Regions from separate parts of the Homo sapiens genome. Here all the other regions are linked to region 1. The links are contacts of gene promoters, found by promoter capture Hi-C in blood cells and fetal thymus (Javierre and others, 2016). All regions are on one chromosome and are shown on one strand. The core of a region is centred on a gene start or on the middle of the fragment in contact, and the rest is flanking DNA. Distances in the headings are between cores, read along the strand shown. Region 1 holds the start of PABIR1 (PP2A Aalpha (PPP2R1A) and B55A (PPP2R2A) interacting phosphatase regulator 1). Region 2 overlaps PIP5K1B (phosphatidylinositol-4-phosphate 5-kinase type 1 beta). Region 3 has its middle 55 kb from the start of PIP5K1B.

The links. The method cuts DNA at HindIII sites, captures the fragments that hold promoters and counts their contacts. A CHiCAGO score of 5 or more calls a contact.
Region 2: a fragment that was not itself captured here is called in contact with the fragment with the promoter of PABIR1 in region 1 in 5 of 17 cell types (neutrophils, naive CD4 T cells, total B cells and 2 more); the score reaches 8.0 in neutrophils.
Region 3: a contact is called between a fragment that was not itself captured here and the fragment with the promoter of PABIR1 in region 1, in 2 of 17 cell types (naive B cells and total B cells). The highest score is 8.6, in naive B cells.

Annotation. Positions count from the first base shown.
Region 1 is chr9:68,778,171-68,781,878 of GRCh38, reverse strand. PABIR1 (PP2A Aalpha (PPP2R1A) and B55A (PPP2R2A) interacting phosphatase regulator 1) reads right to left here and starts at 1,814. Exons shown (of 1, transcript NM_138333.5): 1 at 1-1,814. The coding sequence starts at 1,714. The coding sequence ends at 851. The region is part of intron 2 of PIP5K1B (phosphatidylinositol-4-phosphate 5-kinase type 1 beta); the gene reads right to left. RefSeq lists silencers at 1,554-1,793, 1,911-2,325 and an enhancer at 1,078-1,906. The HindIII fragment of the contact is 10,001 bases long and covers 1-3,708 here.
Region 2 is chr9:68,914,085-68,917,792 of GRCh38, reverse strand. PIP5K1B (phosphatidylinositol-4-phosphate 5-kinase type 1 beta) reads right to left here. Exons shown (of 16, transcript NM_003558.4): 9 at 34-245. Among named protein-coding and RNA genes, the nearest start is that of PRKACG, 98 kb to the left of the region's middle. The HindIII fragment of the contact is 2,764 bases long and covers 764-3,527 here.
Region 3 is chr9:68,648,422-68,652,129 of GRCh38, reverse strand. No RefSeq gene overlaps it. Among named protein-coding and RNA genes, the nearest start is that of PIP5K1B, 55 kb to the left of the region's middle. The HindIII fragment of the contact is 5,031 bases long and covers 1-3,708 here.

The sequences.
Region 1 (3,708 bases), core at 565-3,064:
AACTTTTAAGTTTGCAGTAGTACAAAGAGCTTAGCCTTAGCCTATGTATAGTGGGCAAAGACTGCAAGGCACTGTCCCATTTCACTTTAGGATTACACCCAAGCAAATGCACTTTCCGGTTAAAAAAAAAAAGGAAAAAATTTTATTTTCTCTATAGTAGTTATAGTTGTATGACTGACTAGAATTACTATTAAAATCTCATTAAAAATGTTTTTCTTAAAAGTTTACTTTTATATACTTAATTTGAAAAGATTTGTTCAAACTTTTATAATTTGTTCTTTAATCATTCCCCCTCCCATCCACTTCAGTACCCAGAAAACTAAATATCCAAGAATTCCTGGGTAAAACAGACAACCACTAGATAGATATAACTAACGTATTTTTTTAAGCTGTATAGTTCTTCATCAAATGGAAATCGGCAACCACTGAAAATAACATTAAAAATTAGTGTGGGCATGAAGTATGGAATTTTAAACATCAGTTTACTATGCTGATTAAGTCAACATTTATATTTTCATCAGAACTTAATAATCCCATAAATAAATAGAGCTCTCAGTTATTTAAAAAAATCAAGGGATAACATATGTATTTAGACATATTAGCAGCGTAAAGATGTATGCTTCAACACACTTATTGGGGAAACGTCTGAAAATATTACTACACTGAATTCAAGGGTATCCAAAGGAACCTGACATAGAAGTTCTCTAGAATAACATCATTTCAGGGAATTTCAAAAAAGAAAAGGGGTCAAATAGGAAATAGCCTCAAATTAATTGACAAAGTTCAGTGTTTGCCCCAACTAGATTATTCTCTCTCTCCACTGCAAAAAGAAAGTCTCAGGATGAGTGAATCACTTAGACGAAAGTTCATCTAGTGGAATAAATGGAGAAGCCGCTTGGGCAGGTGACACAGGAGAGTCGGTGGTAGTGCTGACTTTCGCTGGTGAGTTACAAGAAGATCCGGCACTGCTGCTGTTTCCATCAAGGGTATCCGAAGATACACACACACCAGGATCTGACAGCTGTGCAACGTCAGAAGAAAGCATGTTGGTGATGCCCTGGAAAAATCTCTTTGGCTGATATTCAGTTTCCATTTCACATTTTCTTTTCAATGGTCCAAGAACACTTGGTCTAATGCAATTGATGGGGCTCTGGCTTCTCCGGGTGGTAAATCGGGTCGTTGGGCTGGGAATAGGGCTTGGAGGCAATCCGTTGCTACTTACAAAACTTTGCAAGGATGGCGAAAAACACTGCTTCCCAATTCCCCGAGTGGGTGACGGTGCTGGTGACACAGGAATGAAATCGATGCGCTTGGGGGAGGCGGATTTCTCCACGTCGTTGTCACTCAGGCTGAAACTTTCCTCCCAGGAGTGGCTTATCTGCATTGCGGTCTGCACCTCCCGTTCGTGGACCGTCTCTCGGTTGATCAAGTCCATGCCCTCTTCTTGTTTGATCTGGTGCAAGCGGCTGCTGTGCATGCGGACAGGGGAGGCCGGCAGCAGCAGGCCGTGGCGGCTCGGGAACGTTGTGCTGTTCCGCCTGGCGCTCGGCGCCTCGGCCTGGAACACCGGCGAAGTGTCACTGAGGCCGTGGATCAGGGGGGCGCTGTTAGACCTCCTGAGGCCCCCGCCGCCGCCGCTGCCACCGCCCTCCGCCGGGCTCCCGCCCGTACCCGGAGGCAGCTCCAGGTCTAGCTCCATCTTCTCCTGAGCCATGTCGGGGGCAGGGAGGCGGGGGAGGTGCTCAGTCAGGGACCTAGGATTCCCATTCCCCGCAGTCCAGGGCCGCCGCCGCTGCCGCCGCCACCGAGAATCTGTCAGCGGGCTGGCCCCTCTGCGCATGCGTAGCCCTTCGCGCAGGCGCTCGCGATGTCCGTACTCGCGGCGCCTGCTTAATGCGTAATATGTGCGCGGCAGTGGTAGGGGAGGGGCGAGGAGTGGTCGGGCCGCTAGTCCGTATATTCCTTCGGCAAATAGCTATTGAGCGCAAGCTCGCGTTGACGCATGTCAATAAGATTGTCATATTCTGGATTGCATACTCATAAAACAAAGCCCTGAAAGAGAGGCCCATGGTGATGTGGGGCTGTATGACGTGGAGTGGCGCTTGGCCTAATCAGGGAGGGCTTCCTCGAGGAAGGAACAATCTCCTGAAATCTGAAGAAGTGGGCGAAATGGGTGCGATGTAGAACTTTGCAGGAAGCGGGAAGCAACGGCTACCCAGCCAGTTGGCAGGCGGGAACCAGGAGGGGAGGAGAAAGTGTGGCCTGGAGTGGAGAGTGAGGGCTGGCCTGACGTGAGGTGGTGGACCAGACCACATTCTGGTCTTTATCTTGAGAACAATGAAAACTTAAAGGGTTTTCAAGCATGGGTGTAACAGCAACTGAAAAGCTCACTGGCCTGCAGTCTGGAGAATACATATTGGGAGATTAAAACCTTACAGAAAAAAGGCCAGAGAGGATGGTCATTTGCACTAAGGTGACAGTGTGGCAGTGGAGATGGAGAGAAAAGTAAATCTGAGAACTATTTAGGTTAGGGGAAGAAGCCAAAACAGAGGATGGTATTGCTATTGATTTACAGTCATAGTTCCAGCACAAGCATATGTGTGAAGTATGAAGGATTAAACCAGTAGGTCCTCACATTTTAAAAATGAAACCACAATTCTTGGCTCATGTAATTAATATAAAACCTTGATATCTCATTAAAAGTGAGTTTATTTGTTCATTTATTCAGTCAGTCAAGGTTTTTTTTTTTCAGCATACTTACTATGTGCCAAACACTGCTAGGAAATGGGCCCTAGTATGAACTTTTAATTCTTACTGAGGGGAAAATAGAGAAACGCAGGCTATTTTCAGATAGTGGTAAGCCTTAGGAAAAGTAAGATGGTGTGATGGAGCACTACTGATAGAAGTCAGGGGACAATTAGAGTTGAGATCTAAATGACAAGAAGCAGTAAGTCACGTGGACATCTGGGGAATGAGTATTCCAAGCAGAGAGAATAGCAAGTGCTAAGGCCGGAGGCAGCCATGAGTTTGATGAGTTAGCAGAAAAAGAAAAAAGGGCAGTGCCGCTGAAGCATAAGAGCGGGAGTGTTAGGAGAGGGTAAGAGTTGGATCTCATTCTGAATATGATGAAACGCCACTGGAGGGTTTTAAGCAGGGGACTGATATTATCTGGTTTATGTTTTAAATATCACTTAGGCTCTGTGGAAAACAGGCTGAAAGAAGACCAGAGTGGAGGCAGAAGGATGAATTCAGGACCTATGGCAACAGTACAGATAAGATTCTTGGACTAGGGTTGTAGCAGTGTCAATGGGGAGAAGCAGAGAGACTGAGGATATGTGTTGAGTTAGAACAAATAGGATTTGCAGATGGATTAAATTTAGATTGTGAAAGAAATAGATTATTCGAAGGGGACTCATAGCTTTTTTTATTTAAACTGGTGAGATGGTAGTATTATTTACTGAGAGAGGAAAATAGCACATTTAGAGTTGTAGAAATTAAGAGATCTGAAGCAGAAGAACACAAGGTGGAAAGAACCAACATTTTCTAAGTGCCTACTCCCTGCTAGGCACTTTAAACACTCCATAATCCCACTTAATCCTCACTGCATAGATATTGTTATACTCATTTTACGAAGGAACGATTGAGGTTCAAAAATTGCAAAAGGCACTACAGCCAGTACACGGAAGAACAAAGATCTGAACCAATTTG
Region 2 (3,708 bases), core at 896-3,395, 140 kb before region 1:
CAAGAGGGTGGGTAGGTGTGTGGCTGCACTTACGTGTCTGGGTTCTCTGTGATTATCCCATCTCCAGATTTCCCTGGACCCTGGATAGATTCCATGGCTGTTGAGTAGAGAACCTTCTGCATCCCAGTCCGCTTAGCATCAGGCACATTTTGTGGGGTCTCCTCCTCTTTCTCTTTGAGGGAATGGTCCAGGAAATGAATTCCCAACAGAAGGCTATAATCCATGATCTTGAAGCTTTCTAGCACCTGAATGAGAAAAAGAACCAGGAAGCCAGTCAACCCAAAGGCCTGTTCGTCTCATCTACTCATTATCAGAGAGCTCTAGATATACAGACACACAGCTCCTGTTATTCCTCCCAGCGGGGTGGCTGAGAGATGAAGAATCAAAATAAAAACACTTGAGGTTATTATTAGGCCACATGCAGGAAGGATTATCACAATGGCTCCAAGATGGGAATTTTATGCAAATCTGAAACAAGCACATGTTTTCTCAACCCTCCATGAAAGTTTCACTAATAGCACGGATTGAGTACTTTCCATGTGCCAGTGCTAGGAAGCTCATTTGCATTCAATCTCAACAACTCTATAAGCTAGGTACTACTATTGTCTATTTTACAGATGAAAAACTGGAGGCACAGAGAGATAAGGTAATCTGCTCAATATCACACAGCACATAAGTGACAGAGACCCAAGCAGTCAACTCCGGTGTCCACACTCTTAAGCAGTAGAGCAGAGAAACCAACAACCAATAGTCTCTACAAGCTTGTAAGTTTGTACGCTTGTATCTTCCTCAGCATGAAGACACAGCTAGAATGTATCTTTTCTAGCTGAATGTATCTTTTCTATGTCTGAATTCTGTTCTCATAAACTTCTTGGAAGTTAGTGGTCTTCTTCTCAAAACCTCTTTTTTTTTTTTATTTTTGAGACAGAGTCTCGCCCTGTCGCCCAGGCTGGAGTGCACTAGCGCAATCTCAGCTCACTGCAACCTCTGCCTCCCGGGTTCAAACGATTCTACTGCCTCAGCCTCCCAAGTAGCTGGTATTACAGGTGCCCGCCACCACACCCAGCTAATTTTTGTATTTTTAGTAGAGACAGGGTTTCACCATGTTGGCCAGGCTGGTCTCGAACCCATGACCCCATGATCTGCCTGCCTCGGCCTCCCAAAGTGCTGGGATTACAGGTGTGAGCCACCGCACCCAGCCCTCAAAGTCTGTCTTTCGAAGGTGCCGTTCAGTTCCCTGTAGCAAGTCCTTTAAAAATATAATCTCAACAAAGCATAGTACTTCATGTTTAATTATCCACTCAGCAGACAGTGGGGAGGCAAGGGAATTAAAAATAGTTGGATGCAGCCAGACAAAAGAGATGGCAATGCTCTGAAAAGAAAATGACAGGAGACAAAGGTCTGGGTCCGAGTCTGTTGAGATGGCTTCAGGGTATAGGTGGGGCTTTGACACTCAGGACCTTTTCAGACGGAAGAGCAGTGTTCAGGAAGAATGCCTGCAAACTGGGTGTTTTCCTCTATGATAAAGTTCTTTTTCTACTAGTCTGTATATGATTCTCCCCTACAACAGACTTCTTAATACCTGGTATTTCTCACACAAAGCTGCTCAGAAAAGCAAGACAACCCTGGTTGTCAGAACGGCTGTCTCTGAACCAACATGAGAAGCTGTTCCTATACTTTAGCTAGGAAACACCCTGAAGGATCATAGCCTATAGATAATTGTTTAGGGATAAAATAATCCAGAATTTCTTGTGCTTCTTGTTCTTGTTCAGCCCAACTGCCTTTTGATATTTATGATATAGTAAAGAGGGGATCAGGCCTGAAGATTCAGTTACCTGTGGCTGCCACTTCATGGATGCCACCTGAGAAAAGGCTTTGTGAAGTATGGCATATGGCCTTCAAGAAATAGGTTATTCTGTATTACAGGCATCTTTGCCATCAATGAGAACTGAGAGTGGGCTGCAAATGGGTATCAATTATTCCAGAGGGTTCACACTTCATCTTTCAAAAAGTCAAGTTCAGAAGGGAGTCAGGCAGGAGCTCAGAGTAGAATCTTATCACTTAAGAGGTTTGGGCTGTGGGATTTCCTAACCCAAGTGATCTAAGAATGGCTTGATAACAATGTGGAACCAGCCTTCCTAATGGAAGGAGGAGTGATGTCAAGTTGGAGGAGGAAGGGAGGGGTGATAGGAAATCCTTCTTACCACTGATCCAATGCTTGAGTACCAGACCCTTTGGCTGGTTCTCCATGGAGGTGTTATCAGTGCCTCACTGCACCATACAGTAGCACAGACCATGGGAGAAAGAAAGACTGTTTTATGTCAGAAGCACCAAGGGCCAGACTCTTAAAAGAAAACACTAACAGATATTAGATGCTTTCTTCAGACAGAAACAAGTGGTAGAAGGGCCTTAACCTTTCTAATTCTCAACCATACTGAAATGATGGCTTGGCAACAGTACCCCCCGAGACAGCTTCAACAACTCTTCACAATGAATGACCATTTGCAGATGCTAACTTCCCTACTCATATTTATCAGTGCTAGCGCTTCCTTTCTCGGAGAGACTTGGATAAGGACATGGGGGATGAGGGATGAAGAGCATGGACTCTGTGACCTTAGGCAGGTCACATCATCTCCTTGTGTCTCAGTTTCCTCATCTGTAAAATGCTGACACTATTACATATCATATAGGGTGCTTGTAAAAATTAAATGTGACAATGCAAGTCAAGTGCTTAGAAAAGTCTCTAGCATAAAGTGCTTAATTAATTGCTAGCTCTTATCACTATGATTATAATTCACGGTGACTCATCCCTCACACTAGCTCAAGAGACAACAGGTGTTCGCTTGAAGTAAACATTCCTAGAATTACACTTCTGAAAACAAATGTCACTAAATTAGCCAACAAAAATAGAACTGTATTGCTGGCCTGCTTACCAGTGTCATTCTGGCAAATCCTAATTCCTTTAGAAGCTCTGGGTTTGTGGATACCAAGGGGTATGGCCTGGATGGCTGACAACACAGGAATTTTCTCTTGTCTTTTTCTTTTTATTTATTTATTTATTTGTTTATTTTTTTTATTGAGATGGAGTCTTGCTCTGTTGCCCAGGCTGGAGTGCAGTGGTGCAATCTCGGCTCACTGCAAGCTCCACCTCCCGGGTTCACACCATTCTCCTGCCTCAGCCTCCCGAGTAGCTGGGACTACAGGCGCCTGCCACCACGCCTTGCTAATTTTTTGTATTTTTAGTAGAGACGGGGTTTCACCATGTTAGCCAGGAAGGTCTCAATCTCCCGACCTCGTGATCTGCCCGCCTCAGCCTCCCAAAGTGCTGGGATTACAGGCGTGAGCCACTGTGCCTGGCCAGGAATTTTCAATTGGCAAAAACACAGTCTTCTGCCCTGCACAGCCCAAAGCATCCTCCAAAGCAGTAAGCTGGCTTCAAAAGCAGGTCCTAAGAAGACTCTGACAATACTGTGGATGTTCCCAAAAGGCACCCAGAATCATTTACTCAAGTTAGGAGTGGTCAAGCTTAAAAACATTCCGGACACCATGATTTTCCTCCACAGAGTATCCATGAATGAATTCTGCTTGTTAAAAACCTTTGTTTTTTTTAAAAAAATGCTTTTTTTATATTGTCATGCAATATTCAACCTCTGCAAAGCATTTTCCTCAGCAAAGCATCCATGAATTAATTGTTAAGAAGATTTTTTT
Region 3 (3,708 bases), core at 540-3,039, 130 kb after region 1:
CCATGGCCTTGTGTAAAGGAAATTATAATTTCTAGGTGTTCTGACCCCTGAGTAATGTAAGAAACATCACAGAATGAAGTTTTACAAATTTTGTTGTCACCAGCATATTATATTGCAAATAAGCATATATGATTGGAAGAATTTTGATAAAGTTATAGTGTTTTAAATATGCACCTGTAATGTTTAAAAGTTGTCCATCTATATGGTCCAGTTTCAAAGCAGTCTGTCTATCAAAGAAACCCAATTAGGTATCCAAAAAGTCATTGAAGAACTGAAGATATTTATTGAGAACACATACGAATACGTACCTCTCAGAGTTCCTCCTTTATCTTTCACTCACTTTCAATATACATTGCATCAACCCCCATATTTCTTTTTTCATCACTCCCCAAACCCCTCCCACAGCCCTAACCCAAGTTTCTCTCCTTTTCTTCAGGTTCTTAAATATTATATTTGCTGCATGACCAAAGGTCAAAGTTGCATCTATTTTTAGGTGATGAAATGATGACTATTGACTAACATTAGTAATCACTTTCTCCAACATTTCTGAAAAGGTTTCTATCTACTTTGTCATATTGCTTTGAAAATTAGTCCTTGAAAACCATAAAAAACATACTGAAGCCCTAAATAGAATGTTGCATTGTACAAACTCCTTCATAACCATGAGTCATTCCTCACAACAGTCCTGTGGGGTACGCCACATTCTTAATCATATTTCACAAATGGAGACAGTGAGGTAAAGAGAAAGCTGTGGCATAATGGGATCAACACAGATAAAGTGTACTGAGGGCCTCACATGAAATTCAAATAGTGTAGCTCCCATTTTGTAGATAAGAATCCTACTACAATGGGGATACACTTCTCACTCCATAATAGCAACCATCAGAGGCAAGAGGGATTATCATGGTAGCTTCAGTTCTCATCCCTCCATCTTTCTTAATAATTTTGCAGCATAAAAGTCCAACATGGTAGACCATCTGGCAAACTGGGACCTTCCTTAGATGGGGAAAGGAGAAGAAATGGGACAGTGGGGCCAGCATCCTCTTTGGTGTAAGACCTAGAAACACTTACATGCCTGATAATTTTCCCCCGACAGATTCACATGCACATATCTGAAAAGTATACCCACATGTTTGTAGTAAGAGCTGCATGAAGTTTTCTTTTTCTCCTCCTTTGAGAGACAGAGTCTTGCTCTGTTGCCCAGGCTGGAGTGCAATGGTGAGATCTCAGCTCACTGCAACCTCTGCCTCCCAGGTTCAAGCAATTCTCCTGCCTCAGCTTCCCAAGTAGCTGGGACTACAGGTGTGCATCACCACACCCAGCTAATTTTTGTATTTTTCAGTAGAGACAGGATTTCACTATATGTTGGCCAGGCTGCTCTTGAACTTCTGACCTCAGGTAATCCACCTGCCTCGGCCTCCCAAAGTGCTGGGATTACAGGCGTGAGTCACCGTGCCTGGCCTTCATGAAGTTTTCCTTGTCATTTAAACTCTCTGGGTATCTGTTTCCTCATATGTAAAAGGACCATGAAAAGTAGTGTTTATTTCCTAGAGTGGTCTTGAGGGTTAAATGAGATCATACTTGTAAAGCATTTAGGAATAGAGCATAGTACATGGCAAGGGCTGGAGGAATATTGTAGTTATTATTACTTAGTAGCAGTGGTCATCATACATGTGGTAGATAGAATTACTGTAAAAATACACCTTATACTAGCTTATAGGCAATACGCAATTCACCTTAAGCAGAGGCCTGTGATTAATGTAAGTAAATATTTGGATAGTAATGTTGGCAATGGGAAATGTAATAAAATTTTACACTTTCCTCTGTAAGAACTTCCTTATTCAAAACTGTGATAAAACAATACTTTTTGCCTATCTATTGAAACACCAGTATTATCATCTTTCTACCTAATTTAGTAACAACCAGCTTGTATCGAGTATTTACAATGCACTGGATACTCTGCTAAAAACTTAATAGTTTTACCTTCTTTAACTACAACAGTAACTGCAAAAGATAGGGGTTATTATAATTACCTTCAGTTTTTAGGTGAGGAGAGTGAGGCTTCAGAAAATTTCCTTAACAAGAATGATGAGGACATTTTTCAGCTGGGCGCGGTGGCTCATGCCTGTAATCCCAGCACTTTGGGAGGCCGAAGGGGACAGATCATCTGAGATTGGGAGTTTGAGACCAGCCTGACCAACATGGAAAAACCCTGTTTCTACTAAAAATACAAAATTAGCCAGGCATGGTGGCAGGCACCTGTAATCCCAGCTATTCAGGAGGCTGAGGCAAGAGAACTGCTTGAATCTGGGAGGCAGAAGTTGTGGTGAGTCGAGATTGTGCCATTGCACTCCAGCCTGGGCAACAAGAGCAAAACTCTGTTTAAAAAAAAAAAAAAAAAAAAAAGAATGAGGACATTTTTCTTTCTTTGTGTCTCTCTATTATCTATCCTAAAGATTTGTTGAATGGATGAAATGATAGTTAAACCTTACCAGTCTTTATTTTGGCCCTTAACCTTACATCCAAAACAGATTTCAAAATCAATTATGAAAACAGGCACAATCATATTTTAGGAATAAAACAATTTCCCCAAGCCATTTTAGGAAGAAAATGAGGATGAAAAGGTAAAACAACACAAGCATCTTGGTGGGACACAGCTGGGAGATACGCAGATTTTATGATTGGAAAGGGTTTCACAGGAGGGTGGATGGCTACGATCACAGAAGAAATCATCTCACCTTCCAAATCATCAGTAGGGATAAAGTGGAGCTGGAGATGCCATCCTGCTTTCTTCATGCTCTTTGTATTTCGAGGACTAGTGCTTTTTGGGCTGAGCTATTTGAGCTGCTGAGACAGAAACTGAAATGCAGGCTACCCATCAGCACACACAGCTGCTGCTATCATCCATAGTCTTGAGAGATGGGCAGGTTCAGAGGTCTGGGCAGGCCACACAACAACCAGGGCTTACCCACTAAGGTTAGATGACTTCTCTTCCTCATTACCCATAGGGTAATATGCAGTGGCTCAGTGGCTCTCAGGATAGTCACAACTCTACTGTGTTGCCCTTGGTAAGCTGGAAATTATACCCTTGTTGACATGCTCTGCAGGCTGCTGTTAAAAATGCCAAACAGCAAATTTATCCACTGCTAGGTTCTTAAAGAAACAGATTCTCTTTTCTTGAGGAGCCAATAAAACAGAGGTTCTCAAAGTGTGCCTGAACCAACAGCATTGACATCACCTGGGATCTTGTTAGAAATGCAAATCCTTTGACCCTATCCCAGACCTTCTGAATCAGAAACTCTAGGCCTCCTGAATCAGAGACCAGCAATCTGTGCTTTAACAAGACTTCCAGGTGATTCTGATGCATGCTTAAATTTCAGAACCACTTTGCTAAGGGATTAAGGTCAGGAGAATCAAATTGAATACAGAATACAATATCTGAGGGGCAAAGCAATGGTGATGTTGAATTTCTTTCCTAGCTGGTCTTTCCTTATTGCTTGTTGGAATATGTATTTTGGATGGCTATGGATCAGTTGGATAATTCTCAAAACTGTAATTTGCTAGTGAGGCTCAAGATTTAAATGAGAGAGAATGAGGTCAAAAACTCTGGTGACTACTTAAACAGATTACAAGGGACTGATTTTATGTTGAAATCCTTGTTTGAAAAAGATTTGTCACTATTTACATACCTTATATAGTTGTTGTAGA